2 separate regions of the Homo sapiens genome follow, and region 1 is linked to region 2. Evidence: promoter capture Hi-C in 16 types of primary human blood cells and fetal thymus (Javierre and others, 2016). All regions are on one chromosome and are shown on one strand. Each heading gives the region's core, a stretch centred on a gene start or on the middle of the fragment in contact. The rest is flanking DNA. Distances are from core to core; before and after follow the strand shown.

Region 1 (6,807 bases), core at 4,188-6,687, 58 kb after region 2:
CTCAGCCTCCTGAGTAGCTGGGATTACAGTGCCCGCCACTACGCCTGGCTAATTTTTTTGTATTTTTAGTAGAGACGGGTTTCACCATTTGAGCCAGACTGGTCTTGAACTCCTGACCTTGTGATCTGCCCGCTTCAGCCTCCCAAGGTGCTGGGATTACAGGCATGAGCCACCGCACGGGGCTGAGATTATATAAATATATTTCAAGGAATAGGAAGCTGTTATTCCCATGTGTTGCCTTCTCTAAAGAACATCAGCTGTGATTAAATGTCCTTTCAGTGGAGAAATTTTTCACTGCTCCAAGTCAAAGCAGTATATACTTTTAACAAATGATTTTATCCTGAGTTATTTAATTATCCAAGACCATATTCCTTAGCGTCTTTATTCTGGTCTGCTGGGTGGTACTGAGTATACAGGGACTATGCGTCAACTGCTGAGGTGCTTTATGAGGACCTTTGTAAGTCACTATTTTAAGCTTTTTGGTTGAAAGCCACTGAGTTAAGAGAAATTTCATGACTTTAATAAAACTTACTTTCTGGACATTGAACGGAGAATCTTCCGACTTTTGCTCAAGTTTTCACTTGTGTTTACCAGCTGAGAAGAGAAAATAGTGATTATTTCCCTCTTTAAAAAGTATACTCTGTACAATTGAATATCCCTAGATTAACAGTAGGCATTAAGGGATATATGTTGAAAAATTCCAAGAAATCAAGCCAATTTAAATGATGGCCTTTGAGTGTAAGTAGAAGAACCTGGAAAGGACAAGATATTTTAGTACTCATCAAGTAGGCTTAAGAATCATCTTCCCAGGTTGCTGCTGGGGATGGACTCCTGAGACTGAGCTAATCTTCTACCGTGGCTACTCCAAAAGGGAAGGCTTCAAGTGTAGCCAGCAGACTGGCCAGCCAGTGACTGTAGAGCAACTTAAGATTTGAATTTCATCAGCCAAATTCCAGGACAGCCTCTTGAGTTGGCATTTGTTTTTGTAGGCTGGTCTGTTACTGCTTTTGGGATCTGGTTTTTTTCTTTACCCTCTTAAGAGACAGTTACATTGAACTGTGAAAAGAATTAACCTCCATGGAACTTTCAACTGCTTGCTACTAATCTGGACAGCTGGAGGATATTTCACCTCCAGCAGATGGCTACTTGCCATCTGTTCCCATTCCCCAGTGGCCTTGGTAAGCTGACCTCTCAGCTCGTTCCTTGGCTTTTATTTATTTGAAACAGGGTCTCACTCCGTCACTCAGGCTGGAGTGCAGTGCTGCAATCGCAGCTCACTGCAGCCTCGACCTCCCAGGCTCAAGCAATAACCCCACATGTCCCCAAGTAGCTGGGATCACAGGTGCACGCCACCACACCCTGCTCCTTTTTTTGATTTTTAGTAGAGATGAGGTCTCGCTATAGAGATGAGGTCTCGCTCTAGAGATGAGGTCTCGCTATGTTGCCCAGGCTGGTTTCAAACTCCTAGGCTCAAGCCATCCTCCCACCTCAGCCTCCCAAAGTGCTAAAATTACAGGTGTAAGCCCGGCCTCCTTGGCTTTTAAATTCAACCAATCTACCTGGTATGTTCAAAAACCAAAACCCACACAATCTGTAAGCAAGTTACATTCTCCATAGCTTGCCTTGAATGTAGTACTTTATTGTGAATTTTCACTGAAGAGGGCAGGGCATTACTCTGACTTAATGGAGAACTGAAGCTATTAAGAAAATCTACTCAAATCTTCACACTGAGCTAGTATTTTCCTGTCCAAATCTTGGCCACAGTATGTTTTTCAAATTGATTTGCCTTCTGCTATTAAGAATACAGCATTCCATTGGTAAATTGTACCAATTAAAAAATTTTGCCCGGGCGCAGTGGCTCACGCTTATAATTCTAGCACTTTGGGAGGCTGAGGCGGGCAGATCATGAGGTTAAGAGATCGAGACCATCCTTGCTAAAATGGTGAAACCCCGTCTCTACTAAAAATACGAAAAATTAGCCGGGTGTGGTGGCAGACGCCTGTAGTCCCAGCTACTCGGGAGGCCGAGGCAGGAGAATGGCATGAACCTGGGAGGCGGAGCTTGCAGCGAGCCGAGATTGCGCCACTGCACTCCAGCCTGGGCGACAGAGCAAGACTCCATCTCAAAAAAAAAAAAAAAAAAAAAAAAATTCCAGCTGGGCACAGTGGCTCATGCCTGTAATCCTAGCGCTTTGGGAGGCCAAGGTGGAATGATTGCTTGAGCCCAGGAGTTCGAGAGCAACTTTGGCAACATAATGAGACCCCGTTTTTACAAAAAATTAAAACAATTAGCCAGGCACAGTAGCACATGCCTGTATCGCAGCTACACATGAGGATCACTTGAGCCCAGGAGTTTGAAGCTACAGTAAGTTAAAATTGCACTGCTGCACTCCAGCCTGGGTGACAGAGCAAGACCCTGTCTCTAAAAAACTAAAAAATTCCTATGTAGGTTAACTCATTTATGGAAAGGAAAAAATAAATGAGTTATTTTTCTGAGGCTCTCAGAGTGACAGCAGACTAGAGATCCCTGATATAGTCATCATTTGATTTAAATATTTGTTTTCTTTCCACAATGATCCAGCTTACCTTACTGGATAATCCTTAGACATTTTTTTCCCTATTACTTTTTTTTTTTTACTTTTACTTACATAACAGTAAAGGGTTATAGTCCAGGATTGAAGCATAATTTATAAATCTATAAACTGTGGTACTATTTTATGAAATCTGGAAAACAGCCTTGGCTCTAAATAACAGGATATAAGCAGATGATGTTTTCGTAAGAATAGCAGAATACCCTATTAGATGTGTGAGAAATTAAAATCTCAGATTGGAAGCTTTGAATCCTTAAGTGCCTTTTGACATATTATTTCTCTTGCCAAAGAGAGAATGCAGCCACTTTATCCTTATTAATTTCTGTAATCTTGTAAGTGTAGAAATCAGGTCCTTCCATCTTTTTTTCCCCTCACTGAAGCAAAAATTTCCAGTGATGTCTAAATCTTAGGGGTAAAATTGCTTCTAAGGGACATCTCTCAGCCAAGCAAACTAAAAATTGAGCAAAGCGGCCGGGCACAGTGGCTCACGCCTATAATCCTAGCACTTTGGGAGGCCGGAGCAGGTGGATCACCTGAAGTTAGGAGTTCGAGACCAGCCTGGCCAACATGGCGAAACCCCATCTCTACTAAAAATACAAACATTAGCTAGGCATGGTGGCGCATGCCTGTAATCCCAGCTACTCAGGAGGCTGAGGCAAGAGAATCGCTTGAACCCAGGATGCGGAGGTTGCAGCAAGTGGAGATCACGCCACTGCACTCCAGCCTGGGTGACACAGTGAGACTCTATCTCAAAAAAAAAAAAAAAATTAATAAATAAAAATTGAGAAAAGCATAAGAACTTAAAAAAGACTATTCCCTGAATACAGAACTGCTGTAGCTTTTGGCCTTAGTACGGTTTCCAGGTGCAGTGGCCCCCTAATTACCCCATACTTGCCCCTTTCCCTGTCTGCCCAGACTTACTCTACTCTTGGTACGTTCTAACTGGTCTCGTTGTTCCCCCAGCTCTTCTATGATTTCTGAGCCAATCTGGTCAGTCTCTGTGGCAATCCGATGAGAACGTTCAATACTTTGGGTGGCCCGGTTCAGGCTTTCAGTGCCCTGCAGAAGCATTGCCCTTTGAGACTGTAGCCGATTCTGAAAGAAGTATGGAAGAGAAATGTTAGACTTTTTCCATTATAAATTCATTGCCAGCATATTCCTCATCACCTTCCCCATGTTAGAAGGGATATAGTGAGCAATAATTTTCATTCCTTTTAAGACAGAACCAAAGAAGCTAATGATTCTTTTCAAGGTCACAGACTAAAGCAGGACCTGAAATCCAATCAATAGGATCACAATACCCCCACTCCACTGCCTTTTACACTTACGCGAGGCAAGGAAAGATGGATTAAAAATACTGGAGCACTTTCCCTGTGTTTGTAATGAATCTGAACTGGTCCATGTGCCTCCTGGACTATCAACTTCTGAAAGGTGGCAGCCCAGATGTGGGAGCTACCTGATAATGCATATAGCCTGTAACTTCGATAGTGCTATGGGCAAACCAACTAAACTCTGCAGCCCTAGAAAAAGGTTAATTCACTGAAGATTCCCACTAGACTGGTACTGAGGATTGACGGACCATGAATAAGCTATTCTGTTCTTCGTTTTAAGCCTCCAGCACCTGGTATTTCCAGGTGGTCTCCCATCCAAGTACTAACCTGGCCTGACTCACTTGGCTTCTGAGATCAGGCAGGTTCAGAGTGGTATTGCCTAGATGACTACATTCTTCTTTTTCAGCTTCTAAAGAAAGCATGTAGAAGTCTGAGACACTACCACATTCTGGAAAAAACGTATGTGGTTACCCTCTTGGTGAGCCCCAGAAAGAACTTCACCTAAGGTCAAACAAAAAACCTTGAGCCTGCCACACTGGGGGTGATTTGGTCTCAGGGAAATTAGTATCTGGGGCTTGAGCAAGCTTCCCCACCTGCCCTAATTTCTCAACTGCCCTAATTTTCTAAATCCCCACCGAAGTTTTACTCCACCTGTAATCCTAAATACAGACAGCAGGAAGAAAAAAGTAGCCTTGTCAGGCCAGAATTAACAACCACTGACAGAAACGGAGGCAGCTCCAAGTTCTTAGCTGTTCAAAGCACGCGCGCGCGTGCACACACACACACACACACACACACCCAAAATCAAAAGGGACCCAGCTCACAGAGGCCTAGTACAGAGCAAGTGACCACTGGCAGTAGGACCATCAAGGAGCCAAAAGATTGGCTCCCAGAACAGAAGTAGCAAGGAGCATTTTCTTTCTTTCTTTTTTTTTTTTTTTTTGAGACAGTCTCGCTCTGTCGCCCGGGCTGGAGTGGAGTGGCAAGATCTCAGCTCACTGCAGCCTCTGCCTCCCGGGCACAAGCAATTCTGCTGCCTCAGCCTCCCAAGTAACTGGGATTACAGGCACCCGCCACCACGCCCAGCTAATTTTTGTATTTTTAGTAGAGACAGGGTTTCACCATGTTGGCCAGGCTGGTCTCGAACTCCTGACCTCAGGTGATCCACCAGCCTCAGCCTCCCAAGGTGCTGGGATTACAGGCGTAAGCCACTGTGCCCGGCGCTCTGTAGCATTTTCACTTAATAAATGGCATACAGACCAGTAGACGAGGAAACCACTGAATGAGGTTCAAATAAAACCAGTTAGGTTAGCGCAAAGGAAGAAGGAAAAAGGTTTTCAAAATAAAAGATGCAGATTTTCAACTGAGTAGGCTAAAAAATGACTAAGAAAAGATCAGATCACATAAATGAACTTCAGACAGATTTGGAACAATACTTTTTCTGAAGGTATGGATACCTAAATTATGTTTTAATAATTTCTGAAACTCGCCAGGCGTGGTGGGTCATGCCTGTAATCCCAGCACTTTGGGAGGCCGAGACGGGTGGATCACAAGGTCAGGAGATGGAGATCATCCTGGCTAACACGGTGAAACCCCGTCTCTACTAAAAGTACAAAAAAAAATTAGCCGGGCGTGGTGGTGGGCGCCTGTAGTCCCAGCTACTTGGGAGGCTGAGGCAGGAGAATGGAGTGAACCCGGGAGGTGGAGCTTGCAGTGAGCCGAGATTGCGCCACTGCACTCCAGCCTGGGTGACAGAGCGAGACTCCGTCTCAAAAAAAATAATAATAATTTCTGAAACTCATAATTTTAAAGCAAAATTGTTTGGACTTCCTCCCCAACTTTGGCAACATGACTAAAGTCACTTTTACAACTCCCACTTTAACCAGCTCCACCTGCCTGCCTGTTTCCAGTCTCCCTTTACAAGTGATCTTCTGTCAGCTTCTAATCTGTGATAATCCCTCGCGCATCCATTTGAAAATTTTAAGTACTTCATTCTCAAGGGATCTAGTTTTGGCATCAGCAATGTCAAGCCAATATCATCCTGAATATCTCTTAAACTATAATCAGGATGCATCGTGAAACAGGATTTGTTTAAAATTGTAGTATGAGCCTTTCAGTCTGCACTGGTGGGCCCCTTTCCATTTCTCTGCCATGCTACTTGCCAGAGAATTTCTACTTTGTGTTGTGTTTGTGGAAGACAGACCAAATGCAGCACATTTAATCTTTCAGACGTTTTATTCCTTTAACGATCTAGCTGCTCTAGATGGTTTCAGAATACAGATGTTCAATTAGTCCAATTTTATAAATCAGAATCCTGAAAGCTAGAGAGGGAGTCTTGCTCACTTTCTATTACCACAGAATAAAATGATAAAAAGCTCCTTCTCGAGAAGCGCCCTGCATTGGCTACTGTATCTCAGTTGCTGGGCCATCTTGACATTAAGGTAAAGGAAAGCTTGGATTGATTTTGTAACAATATTCTGATAAATTAGAAACCTAACTGAATTTTCCAGGCATACCTGAGAAAGTGATTCTAAAATTTATATGAGAGAATAAAAAAGATCAAGGAGAAAAGAAATTAGATCAATGAGTCAGAATCCAGATAATAAGAATAGGTAACATTTACATTCTACTACATACAAAGCACTGTTTTTTTTTTATTATAAGACTGTATTATATTAAGGATAAAAAGAAATCTAAATATGCATATAGTTCGAAAGGCCTGCCTTAAATAGAGCAGATACCAAGGGGTAACAGGAACTGGATGCAGAAAAGAGGATAAGGGTGAAAAAAATGAAACAAGAGTCTAGTATACACTGATAACATGAAATACCCCAACAATATAGTTAATTTTTGTACCACAGGCCCTTAAAGGAAAAAAAAAACAAA
Region 2 (6,661 bases), core at 1-2,500:
CATACGGTTTAGATAGTTAGATAGTTTCCTGCAATTAGGGCAGTCTTAATTCTGCATATTTCTATGCTAAATTACCATGCTCTGAAACACGCTTTGACAGCAAAAAAGCGAATGGATGCAGTAATGGAAACAATATCCAAGTTACAAAAATAAATAGCCCTGCTGTACTTAGCTCTGATTAGATCACTTCTGGGATAATACATTCAATTCAGGCACTACATATGAAACTAGAACTTATCCTGAAAATTAGGATAATTCTTTTTATTTGAGAGCTGTCACAAAGTTACTGCATTTAACCCTCACAATATCATGAAGCTGGTATGGCAGGCATGAATTCTATTTTAGAGATGTAGAAAATTGAGGCTCAGAGAAAACAGGAATGAATCTGGAAATTGAGCACAGCTATCACACACGTCCAAAATTTCATAAACCTTTAGAAAGTACTTGAAATTGGGGAAGGGTTTGGGAGGAGGGAGGGTTAAAAAACTCCCTTGAAAAACAGAGATTAGGAAGAACTATAACACTCTATCTATACACACAGATAAACACACACACTTGTGGAGGCAAAGACAGTTTGTGGAAGTCTACGTAAAGTATTGTTAGCAGTACTACTTTGAGGAGCAGAAGGGATGGACGAGGAAGACCCACTTAGTAGTTCCTTGAACTCTTGGAATTAAATTACTGCGCGCCTATACTACATAGAACACATGGCAGTTAAAGTTTTAGGCCGTCGCGCAAGAACTAGATGTATGCTGAGTGAACCCACGGAGCAGAGCACAGCCACGGAAGGGGAATGTACTATCCAGGAGCACACATTTCACTAAACGTCATTTAAAGAGCTGTCCAGCAGCGGAATATCGTCCCCAGAACCCGTGAGTTCCCGCCCTCCTGTCCTATCACTGTAGGAGGGGCCGACCAGAGGTCCGGGCTCGACCAAAGACCCCAAAGACCCTCCCAAAGCCGAACCCCCTCCTTCGAGCGCGGGGAGGGGCCGACTTGCCATTACCTCGCAGAGGGTGAAGAGTCCGTAGGCCGCCAGCCACACCGTGCAGGTGACAGCGGTGAGCGAACGCAGCGAGAGCCGAGGGCAGCTGAGGCAGAATTCCCGGCAGGACGGGGAGTAGTAGCGGCGCTGCAGCGCCAGGCGGCCGCCGCAGATATCCGAAAAGCTCCGCTCATCCTCCATGACGCCCCCACTCGGCCGCCCGCACCGCGCGGCGCTGCACTGCGCTCGCCGGCCCTGGCCGTCTCGCCCGCTCCAGACCCGCTTCCGGCAGCCGCGTCACCACGCCCCGCCCTAAGCCTGCGCAGCCTCAGTTGCGCGCCGAGAGCTCTGCTGGGGGCTGATGGTTGTGCGTTCTTCCGGGCCGGCCTTGACTGTCTTCGAAAAAACCTCGTCGGGGCAATAGTTAAGTGGAAAGATTAAAATCGTTTTTAGACCGGGCGCGTTGACTCAGGCCTGTAGTCCAGCACTGGGAGGCCAAGGCGGGAGGATCGCTTGAGCCTGGGAGGTCGAGGTTGCAGTGAGCGGAGATCATGCCCCTGCTCTCTAGCCTGTGCGAGAGAGCAAGACCCTGTCTCAAAACAAACCCACAGTTTGTTTTTGTTTTGAGACGGAATGGCGCGACGTCGGCTCACTGCAACCTGCTTCCCCCGGGTTCAAGCGATTCTCCTGCCTAAGCCTCCTGAGTAGCTGGGATTACAGGCGCGCGCCACCACGCCCTGCTGATTTTTGTATTTTTAGTAGAGACAGGTTTCACCATGTTGGCCAGGTTGGTCTCAAACTCCTGACCTCAGGTGATTCGCCCGCCTCGGCCTCCCGAAGTGCTGGGATTACAGGCGTGAGCCACCGCACCCAGCCCAAACCCACAGTTTTAATCATGCTTTTGCTTGGCAAGCCGATTTCTCTAAGCCAGAGTGAGCCGCAAGGAGAGCCCACGGGTATTCATTTCACTTACTCTTTTCCTGTGCCGGGTAGTTTGAGGTGCTTGAGGATGCAGCAGTGAACGATGTTGATGACAGTCTCTGCCCTCGGGCAGCTTCCTTTCTAGTAGGAGACAATATGGAAATAAGAGAGTATCGTTGGCAATACTATGCTGACTGGCAGGGATGGACTGAGGACTTTACATAGGGCAGTCAGGCGAAGTCTCTAAGTAAGAGGACACTGAGTTACAAGGGTGACGAGCCAGACAGGACTGAAGGAGCTCTGGAGGAGGAATTTGCCAGAAAGAAAGACCAGGAAAGGCAAACCCCTCGAAGTTGGAACAAGCTTGGCTTAATGAAATAATCAAAAGGCGAGAAAGGTTGGTGTGTGGGGAAAACAGTTGGAAGCTGGGGAGGCAGGTAGGGGTCAGATCCAAGAGGGTCTTGTAGGGTCTGGTAAGGAGTTTGGATTTCACTGCCTGGGAGTTCTGTCTCCCAAATGACTGCTTGGACCGTGGTAGACAGGCAAGACCTGGCTGGGAATTAAGCAGGAGCGGGAGATGCAGAAGAAATGGATAATAAAATTACTAAACTCATGAGTAATAGTGGCCTATGAGTTCCATTTTTACTTCTGATGTGGCCCAGGAGTGGCTATGTGGACTGTCAAAACACTTGTGATGGGCTGGGCATGGTGGCACATGCCTGTAATCTCAGCACTTTGGGAGGCTGAGGAGGGCAGATCACTTGGGTCAGGAGTTCAAGATCAGCCTGGCCAACATGGTGAAACCATCTCTACTAAAAATACAAAAAAATTACCTGGGCATGGTGGAGCATGCCTGTAATCCCAGCTGTTCGGGTGGCTGAGGCAGGAGAATCACTTGAACTTAGGAGTTCAAGACCAGCCTGGGCAACAGAGCAAGACTGTGTCTATATTCATTTAAAAAAAAAAAAAGATCCATGGCATAAAGGTCTCACCAGCTTTAAGTCTCTCTGATGAAAGGTTCCGTTTCTTCATCTTCATTCAGAATTTTATTTCCCTTTCTTTTTTCCTAAAGGATTTCTTCAAGCACTTCTTTATTTTTCTAGTTTTATTTCTGTGCCCCGAATCTGACAATTAATACACTCCTTTTATTAGTCCGTTTTCACACTGCTATAAAGAACTACCTGAGACTCGGTAATTTATAAAGAAAAGAGGTTTATTGACTCACAGTTCCACATGGCTGGCAAGGCCTCAGGAAACTTACAATAATGGTGGAAGGCAAAGGGGAAGCCAGGCATGTCTTACATGGCAGCAGGAGGGGAGTGGGGAAGTGCCACATTTTTAAACCGTCAGATCTCGTGAGAGAACTCACTCAGCATCACGAGACCAGCATGGGGGAAATCCGTCCCCATGATCCAATCACCTCCCACTGGGTCCCTCCCCTAACAAGTGGAGATTACAATTTGACATGAGATTTGGGTAGGCACAGAGAGCCGAACCATATCACCCCTTTTACTATTGCATATATCATGTGTTTTATAATTATAAAAGTGATATTTGCTTATTGTGGAAAATTTGAAAAATACAGAAAAGAAAAAAATGTAAACCACCCATATTTCCATCACTCAGAGATAAGTACTGTTAATGTTTTGGGGAAGCCTGTAGTCCTGGAGTTCTTAACTTGGGCTCCACGGATAGAATCAGTGTTTCATTTTTAGTTTCATTAACTTCTAATTAAAATTTAACATTTCTTTTGATTATGAATATGGGCAACAAACTAGTATTAGTAGAGCTTGTGATTTTTGTCACTGACAGAAATCACAGATATTTTCTTTTCACAATAATTGTTTCAAAATGTCATTTCTAGTCATTGCTACTTCAAAATTGCAGTAATTATTAAACCCATCACTAGCTATTATTATTTAATGTGTCAATAAAGAGAAACATATCACTGTAACACATTTTTAAAATATTTTGATAACCATATTTTAATTTAGTTGATTTTCTTAGAAGTCCTATGTATTTATACATTTTAAAGCATTATTATAATAAAGGGTCCATTCATTTCGCCAAACTTCCAGAGGGTCTACAATACAAAAGGTACCTGTACAGGCTAAGAAGTTTCTTTTCTTTTTCTTTCTTTCTGGTTTGTTTTGTTTTGTTTGAGGCAAGGTCTTGCTCTGTCACCGAAAGCGGAGTGCAGCAGTGGTACGGTCATGGCTCACTGCAGTCTCAACTTCCTGGGCTAAAGAGATCCTCCCACCTCAGCCCCTCAAGTATCTAGGGCTACAGGCACACTCTACCACATCAGGCTAATTTTTGCATATTTTGTAGAAATGGCATCTCACTATGTTTCCCAGGCTATTTTCAAACTCCTAGGCTCGGGTGATCCTTCGGCCTCAGCCTCCCAAAGAGTTGGGATTACAGGCATGAGTCACCATGCCCAGCAGGCTAAGAAGTTTCACAATTATAGAGTTATAGAAAGAAAAAGGCCAAATGTACTTTACTTAATTTTTTAAAAATACTCAATTATTAGGAATAAATACTGTGGTAGTCTAAGATCTCTAAAATCCTTTTTCTTTTTAGAGAGAGGGTGTTGCTCTGTTACTCAGGCTGCAGTGCAGTGGTATAATCATAACTCATTGTGACCTTGAATGCCTGGGTTGAAGCGTTCCTGTTGCCTTGGCCTCCTAAAGTGCTGGGATTGCAGGCATGAGCCACTGCACCCAGTCACTAAAATCCTTATTACTGCTTTGTGGGTTGTTTGTTTGTTTGAGACGGAGTTTTGCTCTTGTTACCCAGGCTGGAGTGCAATGGCACAATCTTGGCTCACCACAACCTCCGCATTCCAGGTTCAAGCGATTCTCCTGCTGAGGTCAGCCTCCCAAGTAGCTGGGATTACAGGCATGCGCCACCATGCCCAGCTAATTTTGTATTTTTAGTAGAGATGGGGTTTCTCCATGTTGGTCAGGCTGGTCTCAAACTCCTGACCTCAGGTGATCTGCCCGCCTCAACCTCTCAAAGTGCTGGGATTATAGGCGTGAGCCACCGCTCCCAGCCCTGCCCTTGTTTTTTGTTTTTGTTTTTTTTTTGAGACAGTCTTGCTCTGTCGCCTAGGCAAGAGTGCAGTAGCACAATCTCTACTCACTGCAACTTCCACCTCCTGGGTTCAAGCGATTCTTGTGCCTCAGCCTCCCAAGTAGCTGGGATTACAGGCGCAAAGGTTTTAGCTTTCTTACTGGGATGGATAGGCAAAGAATGTCTGTTCCATCTTTCAGAAATGGAAGTCTCCTCATCTGTCCATTTAAGGAAATGTTTTAATTGAGGTATATCCTCCAAGCAGTAAAACAGTCTGTGACTTACTTTTCCATACTCTAATGGTGTCTTTTGATGAACAGAGGTTTTAATTTTCATAAAGTCCAATTTATCAATCTTGTCTTTTATGGCTAGTGTTGTATAATATTTTGTCCTGTTTAGGAAGCTTTGCCTGTCTTGCGGGCATGGTGGCTCATGCCTATAATCCCAGCACTTTGAGAGGCTGAGCCAGGAAGATCGTTTGAGCTCAGGAGTTCCAGAACATGCTGGGCAACATAGCGAGACTCTGACTCTACCAAACAAAAAACAAAAAACAAAAAGCTGGGCATGGTGGCACAGCTACTAGGTACTAGGGAGGCTGAGGCAGAAGGGTTGCTTGAGCCCAGTAAGCCCAGCTTACTGTAGGAGGCTACAAAAAGCTGTGATCAAGCCACTGCATTCCAGCCTGGGTAACAGAGCGAGAAAAAACAAACAAAACAACAACAACAAAAAAAACTTTGCCTATCTTTTTTTTCCCTAGAAGCTTAATTATTTTACCTTTCATATTTAAGCCAATGATCCATTTTGAACTAATTTTTGTTTGTAGAGGTTAAGGGTCATTTTGTTTCCCAGCAGCACGTGTTGAAAAGACTACCCTTCCCCCCTAATTGAGATAGTGCCTTTGTTGTAAATAGGTGACCACAAATTTCTCGGTCTATTTCCACACTCTCTATTATGTTCTGTTGTTCTATTTTGTCTTCCCTTGTGCTAATAGCAACCTGTCTCAATTACTGTAGCTCTACAGTAGGTCTTGATTTCTCATACTGTTAAGTCTTTCAACTTTATACCTTTTCTTCAAAATTGTATTGGCTATTATAGGGTTTTTGTATTTTCACCAAAAATTTTGCTTGGATTGTACTGAATCTATCAATCAATCTAAGGGAGAATTGACATCTTAACTATGCCGCATGTTCCAATCCATGAACCTGGCATCTCTCCATTTATTGAAGTCTTCTCTAATTTCTCTCAGCAATGCTTAACAATTATTTGCACATCTTTCATTAGACCTCATTTGTAGGTATTTGATGTTTTCTGATATTCTCATAAATGATGTACATTAAAAATTTATTAACTCTCCCTTTTTATTTATTTATTTTTAGAGACACCATCTCACTCTGTCACCCAGGCTAGAGTCCATTGGCACAAATATCAGCTCACTATAACTTCAAATTCCTGGGCTCAAGGTATTCTCCCACCTTGGCCTCCCAAAGTGCTGGGCTTACAGGCATGAGCTATTGTACCCAGCCTTGCCACTCTCTTTTTAGTAAGATGTGTTTGGTATTTACCTAACATCAAATTGAAATTTTATAGAACAAAATACATCCATAATCCTGCCACCTAAGTATTTCCTCTTTACAAAAGCTCCTATGTCATATAAAATTTATATTAAATAAATTTATATGC

What was found. The method cuts DNA at HindIII sites, captures the fragments that hold promoters and counts their contacts. A CHiCAGO score of 5 or more calls a contact.
Region 1: a fragment that was not itself captured here is called in contact with the fragment with the promoter of PIGH in region 2 in 3 of 17 cell types (megakaryocytes, naive CD4 T cells and total B cells); the score reaches 5.4 in megakaryocytes.

What each region holds. Positions count from the first base shown.
Region 1 is chr14:67,652,905-67,659,711 of GRCh38, forward strand. It overlaps VTI1B (vesicle transport through interaction with t-SNAREs 1B), which reads right to left. Exons shown (of 6, transcript NM_006370.3): 4 at 3,512-3,685; 5 at 533-594. It also overlaps a transcript of GPHN not described here and the pseudogene RNA5SP386. Among named protein-coding and RNA genes, the nearest start is that of VTI1B, 18 kb to the right of the region's middle. The HindIII fragment of the contact is 1,868 bases long and covers 4,504-6,371 here.
Region 2 is chr14:67,599,018-67,605,678 of GRCh38, forward strand. PIGH (phosphatidylinositol glycan anchor biosynthesis class H) reads right to left here and starts at 1,251. Exons shown (of 4, transcript NM_004569.5): 1 at 1,007-1,251. The coding sequence starts at 1,186. It also overlaps a transcript of GPHN not described here. RefSeq lists an enhancer at 929-1,248. The HindIII fragment of the contact is 5,160 bases long and covers 1-2,267 here.